2 separate regions of the Homo sapiens genome follow, and region 1 is linked to region 2. The links are contacts of gene promoters, found by promoter capture Hi-C in blood cells and fetal thymus (Javierre and others, 2016). All regions are on one chromosome and are shown on one strand. The core of a region is centred on a gene start or on the middle of the fragment in contact, and the rest is flanking DNA. Distances in the headings are between cores, read along the strand shown.

Region 1 (3,014 bases), core at 93-2,592, 91 kb before region 2:
TTTGTCACTTTAGAACATTTTCTTTTTGATGTTGATACAAATTAAACCTAGAGCATAAGACTACTGAGTACCAAAATCTCCATCTCTACTAAAAACATATGCCTATCAATATCATAAACAAACCTTTAGGGCACTAGCGTCACTTTCATCTGAATCCCGGAATTCCACACAGACTGCAATGTTCCTTGCCTAAAATGATTAATCAGTCAAAATGAGTCACACAATTAGCAGATTATAAATAACATTTTATACTCCAAAAATGTATAGTTTACATGGTTACCTTGGCAAATGTTTTCTGGCTATCGTATTTTAATTGCAGGGGATATACATACAGATGGTTTTTGTAAATAGTAAATGGATAACAATATTTTGTCATTTCTGGAACAAACTCTTCAACCTCCACAGTAATATTTTGGCAATTCTTTTCAAAAGGCTTCAAGGGCACATATGAAGAAGTAATACAATCTATAGCAGGGAAAAAAACAGGCAAAGATCATTCAGTTTAATAATCATTAACACATTCCTGCATGTATAAAAAATATACATGAATTGCATTCTCAAAGAGCGATTTAAAAAACATAATTCTTAGTAATTGACCAAAAAAATCACATGACAACTTTAAGAACCCAAAAAGACAAGACTGAGTAGTCTGATGCTGATTTTAGTGGAACCCTTCATACCAGACGTGGAGTGCTATTTCGTTCTCAATGTCGAGTGATTTGCCAAATATAACACATCATAATTTTGACAAATTTAAACTCTGCAAAGAAATCCATTTCATTTTCCCTCCTGTGGCAGCAATTTAGCTTTCACTGCAAATTTTTATTGGTATCAGGGAAATAACGGTAAATTTATGCTTCCAATTAGTTCATGGCAAGTCACTTTTTAAAAGCTAACTTGGTACAGGTGCAAATTTTCACCTAAGAAATAATGGAGGCCTTTTGATCTTACGATGTGTTACCAATGATAAACTCAATACCCCGACCGTGAAAAAATACTAAGCCTCAGAGAAGTTTAGCAGCATATGTTATTGAAATCGTCACTGTAGTAAAGGTTATTCATATACTTAAGGGGCTCTAAGACTGCTGGTCCTTGCTGCAGAGCAGTAATGATGAAGGAAGACCCAGGGAGAGTTGGACCTGAGGATGCTGTATTTTTTGTTGGATTTGCTTTTCTGATTATTACAGTGATACATGCCTATAACAGAGCATCTGGAGGTAGACAGTGAAGGTAGACAAGGACAGTTGCTCATTCCGCCACCCAGAGATAACTACTGTTGAGACTTTGGCATATCTTCTTTTAGTCTTCTATGCATATTGTATATAGTGATATGAAAATCCTACACTATATATAGAACTTTATCCTGATTTTTCGACATTTATCTGATGTCTCATTCCATGAACTCTTTGTAAACATTGCTGTTAATGGCTGCAATAAAGTTTCATGGTATCAGTGTAGCATCATTATCTTAACCACACTGACAGTGTTGGATTCTGATTGTTTCCAATTTTCCTCCAATATAAATAACACTGCAAAGAACATCTTTATGGATCCATTTCTGCCTAGATTTCAAATTGCTTCTTTAGGAAAAAATAATCCATTGTACTCTTAGATGTTTTAAAATATAAAGTGGATGCCACACCTCCATTTACTATTCTTTATTGACTTCTCACTGCATTTAGAATAAAATTCAATTTTTTAAGGCATTACCACAGTCAACACAATTCCTTACATGACCTGATGCTTCCTATTTTATCTCCTATCTCCACTGTTCCCATCACATACTACACTAGAGCTATACTGGATTCCCTTCTGTTCATGCAAACCCAGCTTGGTCTCACCTCAAGGTCTTTACATATATATGTGATGGTCTTTACAACGTATGTGATGCCCTCAGTCTGAAAATGTTCAGTCCCAATCACCACATGCTGGCTCTCTTTCTCCCTCTTCAGTTCCTGAGCTTAAGACAGGTGTTCCCTGGCTACCCTTTTTACAGCTGCCCTTGTGATATGGTTAGGCTTTGTGTCTCCACCCAAATCTCACCATGAATTGTAATCCCCAGGTGTTGAGGGAGAGACCTGGTGGGAGGTGAATGTATCATGGGGCGGTTTCCCCCATGCTGTTCTTGTGATAGTGAGTGAGTTCTCATGAGATCTGATGGTTTTATAAGTGTTTGGAAGTTCCTCTTTCATTCACTATTTATCTCGCCTGCCACCACAAAAGACGTGCCTGCTTCCCCTTCTGCCACGATTTTAAGTTTCCTGAGGCCTCCCCAGCCATACAGAACTGTGAGTCAATTAAACCTCTCTCCTTTATAAATTACCCAGTCTTGGGTAGTATCTTTATAGCCGTGTGAAAAACGGAGTAATACAACTCGTTTGCTTGCATACTATCTGTCACTCCTTCTAGACTTTAAACTCCCTACGTTTAAAGCACCTCGTTGGTAGTCAATAAACGTTTACTCAATAGATAGTTATTCAGTGAATGAATGCATATACTCTCAGAATTGGAATGCCCTACTTATGAACATCTATGGATATCTATTACCAAACTGTACTCCTACTCATGATAGGTGATACCACCTGGCCAAAACCTAGCCAGCATTAGGTAGCTTCACTTTAAACATTTTAATAGATTTGATGGATGAGCAAAAGCATATTGTTTAATTTGCCTTACTGGCATTATTACTAAGATTGAATATTTTTCACATATTTACTAGCTACTTCATTTTATCTCTTGCAAATTGTGTTTTGTGTCTTCTATTTTTCTCCTGGGATCTTGGATTCTTGTCCTTAGACAAGAAAAGAAATCCTTCTCCTTTTTCATCTCTTAGTTGATGACAGAAGTAAAAGTTACCAAAGGCAAAAGGCAATAGAACCTGACTGGGACACACTCACAACTTCGTATATATGAAACAGCATCTGATAAAATCAACTCAATTCACTTCCTAATCTGTAACTATTCATCGTGCATACTGGGTTGAAAAGCATCCACGCCCCCACTCAAAATTCATG
Region 2 (3,293 bases), core at 484-2,983:
AGCCAAGTCCATTAAAGTAACATTAAAGGTCTGGATTTAGCTCCACTAAACAGCAGAATTAAACTTTCAAGGGTCTAGCCACAATAAAGAGATTTCTTTAAAGTCACTTAGGTTTGCACAGTTGTAGCTATTAGGGATCAGATCTTTATCTCAAAGGTACATAGTTTACCTTTGATCCTCCTCCAGAACTCCCACTAATGTCAACTTTCTCCACTGTTGGGATCAAGCCCCTGGCCTCCCTTTAATGCTGGGTTTTATTGCTGATTCTACAAGATCAACAGAAAAATTACAAGGAAAAGCTGTGAAGTTCCCTTCCGATGACAAGTTGTTTTAACAAAAAGAGCCCTCTCTTAAACGGTGAAATTTAAACACAGCAAACGACTCGCTGTAAAATGGAGCTGAGGGAGACAAAAACAAACAAAAACAACAACCAAAAAACAAAGTAACAAAACAAACACTAATTAATCAGTCCGATTGCTTATTCAGGGTTTGTTCGCTTGTCCAGGAAACTGGCAACGAGTGTCTTGAAAACAAGAGAAGGGGCAAGTGCCCGTTAGCACCCTTTAGCCTTTCTCCAGAGTCAGACAATCTGGATAAGGCTGAGGGTGCTCTGGGAGGGTTCCCAGGGAGTCAGCGCGCTTTCGAATCCCCATCCCCCAGTCCTGAGCTGTGGGGCTCTGACCCCAGGTCCTCCATCCCTGGACTGACACACCCAGTCTTCCCCCAAATCCCCACGGCACCGTCCCCTTGGTCCCCTTGCCTCTGGAGCGCTCGCGTGTCCCCGAGGGACACACTCTCCCTGCGGTGGATGACCCTGCGCCCACTCTGTCGCAGAACCCCGTTGTTTCTAATGCCCTTCCTCCGCAGCAGCACCCCTTCAACACCCATCACCACCCTCTCTCCCCAGTTGCAGGAGGAAGTCGCTCTGCTTCCTCTGTTCTCACCGCCAGCCCGAGCTTGGGCGCCCGGGGCTTTCTGGGTGGGGTTCTTTTTTGTGTACACAGTGTGTGTATGTGTGCGCGCGAGAGTGTGTGTGCCAAACGCTCATCGCATCCTTCCGCCTAGGCGGCCTCAGGTGCTCGCGGGAGGGGATCAGGATCTCGTCGTGCCCTTGTCCCCGGCTCTTTGTGCCGAGTCCAGAGCAGCGCGAGGTCAGCTCTTTAGCTCACACCCCCGGCCCCGACCCTGGGTGGGAGCCTCCGCCTCCGCCTCCTCCGCAGCCGTCCGAGCCCGGCTTTTGCCCGTCTGCTTCCATCCCGGCGCACGCCTCCGCCGTGCCGGGCGGCCGGAGAGCTGTCAGCCGGCGCCTGGGACTCGGACCCCGGCCGGCGGCTGCCGGTGCGAAAACTTACTGGAGCGGAGAAAGACAGCGCGCGGCGCACCAAGCGGCCGCACTGGCGCCGTTCCTGCCCCTTCCCGCGTCGCTCCCGCCTGGAGCGCGTCCCCCGGGATGCCCCGTCCCCCGGCCACTCACCAGCACCACGGAGCCCCGCACGGCCTCAGACACGCTCTGCCGGAGCTCAGCCGCCGTGCCAGGCTTGCTGAGCCGTTTGGTGAATTTGCGCACTTCGGCCATGGCAGCGGCGGCGGGCGGGTCTCGGCGGGCGGGCGGACCTCGGCGGGCGGGTGGACTCACTGCCCCGGCCCGCGGCGGCCGCGGCCGCTGCTGCTCCCTCTGTTTACTCGCCGGCCGGCCGGCCACATCGCAGCTCGGCGGCGGCGCGGCTCACGCTGCTCCTCCCTCCCACCTCCCACCCGCTGCTCCTCCCTCGTTCCCTCCTTCCCTCCTTTTCTCGCTCGCTTCGCCCGCTCACTGTCCTGCCCCACGGCGTCGGCGGCGGCAGCTCCCTCCCCTAGAGGGCCCGAGCTCCGATCGCCACCAGCCGAAGCAGGAGGGTGTGTCTGATGGGGAAGGGTGTGTAGAGGGGGAGGGAGAACTGGAGGTGGGGGCGAGGGTCACGAGGGAAGAGGGGGGAAGTGGCTACCGCTCGGGCTCCGCCCGCAGCTGATGTTGCTGGTGCAGCCGCATCCGGGAGGGGAGATCTGGGCTGCTTCTTTTTTTCCGCTTGAGTGGGGAGGGCGGGGTGGGGTGGGGGAACAGAGAGGGGTGATGAAATGTCTCCAAGAGTGGGGCGTGCTCCTCTCCCGCCCTAGTGCTCCTCTCCCGCCTCCGAGCTGCAGTGCCCGCAGGAGGGCTGGAGAACTCTCACGTCCCTCCACCCCGCAAGCCCCCAGGGCCCAGGCGGCTAGGGGCTGGAAAACAACGTGGAGCAGCCGCCTTTTGTGTGCTCCTTGGGGAAGGGTCGCACCAATGTCGAAGGACAGAGAGCTGCTTTCCAGCGTGAGCGGCTCGACTGGGTCCCCCTCCTCGCCCACACCGTTTTCCTACTCAGTTGGCTCACCTAACAGGGGGCAACACTGGGGAGAGAGCATGCTTCTGGAAGTGGGAACTTATTGTGGCGGCACCCCTCGCTCCGTCCCCCACGGGGGAGAGCTGGGTGGTGGAGCCTGAGCCTGTGGCAGGTGATCCCTAGGTCAGCACTGACTGCACCAGGAGTGGGGTGGGGGTGGGCATTAGGATGAGCCTGTGGCAGGTGATCCCTAGGTCAGCACTGACTGCACCAGGAGTGGGGTGGGGGTGGGCATTAGGAAGGCCATCTCCCTGGGTTTGGTGGACTTACCAATCTTATAGTAGCTTTTACAAGTGCCCTGCACTCACCTCTCCATTTCCTATTCATCTCCTTACTCTTTTCAGCTTCCAAGAAATTGTTTTTCCAAGAATCAAAGAACATCTCATAACAGGGTATAAAACGAACATGCTTAAGACAGAAATAGGGACGGGAATCTTGAAGTACTAGTGACCCTGTCAGACCTCCTGAAGTGCAGAGTGAAAGGCTCCACTGATGGTGGCAGTTTTCTATCTGGTTATTTCATTTGTTGAGAGTTTGAAAATGGCCCTCAGTCTGGGGGACCGAGCAGCCCTTCTGAAAGCAGTCCTACCACCACCCATCGGGCACTTTCCCCACCCTCAAAGACCAAACAGTCTTTTAGGGGACTTTATTATGGAAACAAGGGCATGCGTGGTGATGGTTTCTTTGAACCCAGAAAAGGCCAAGTCTCTTCGCAGTAAGCCTATTTCAGCCATCCCATCAGTCTCAATAAAGCATATATGGAGGCTCCTAGAGGGCCTGGGACCTGGAAGTCCTCTAAAGACATTCTGTCACAAATCTTAGTTTTGCACAGTACGTGTAAAATTTGTTAATTGTTGCGTGTAGGCTGATCTCCAAGAATTC

What was found. The method cuts DNA at HindIII sites, captures the fragments that hold promoters and counts their contacts. A CHiCAGO score of 5 or more calls a contact.
Region 1: a contact is called between a fragment that was not itself captured here and the fragment with the promoter of DOCK11 in region 2, in 12 of 17 cell types (activated CD4 T cells, non-activated CD4 T cells, megakaryocytes and 9 more). The highest score is 12.4, in activated CD4 T cells.

What each region holds. Positions count from the first base shown.
Region 1 is chrX:118,585,588-118,588,601 of GRCh38, reverse strand. It overlaps DOCK11 (dedicator of cytokinesis 11), which reads right to left. Exons shown (of 53, transcript NM_144658.4): 17 at 281-465; 18 at 124-189. Among named protein-coding and RNA genes, the nearest start is that of DOCK11, 91 kb to the right of the region's middle. The HindIII fragment of the contact is 4,896 bases long and covers 1-3,014 here.
Region 2 is chrX:118,494,255-118,497,547 of GRCh38, reverse strand. It overlaps DOCK11 (dedicator of cytokinesis 11), which reads right to left and starts at 1,733. Exons shown (of 53, transcript NM_144658.4): 1 at 1,475-1,733. The coding sequence starts at 1,576. RefSeq lists silencers at 1,206-1,265, 1,436-1,495, 1,586-1,665, 1,776-1,915 and enhancers at 945-1,923, 2,326-2,395. The HindIII fragment of the contact is 5,195 bases long and covers 1-3,293 here.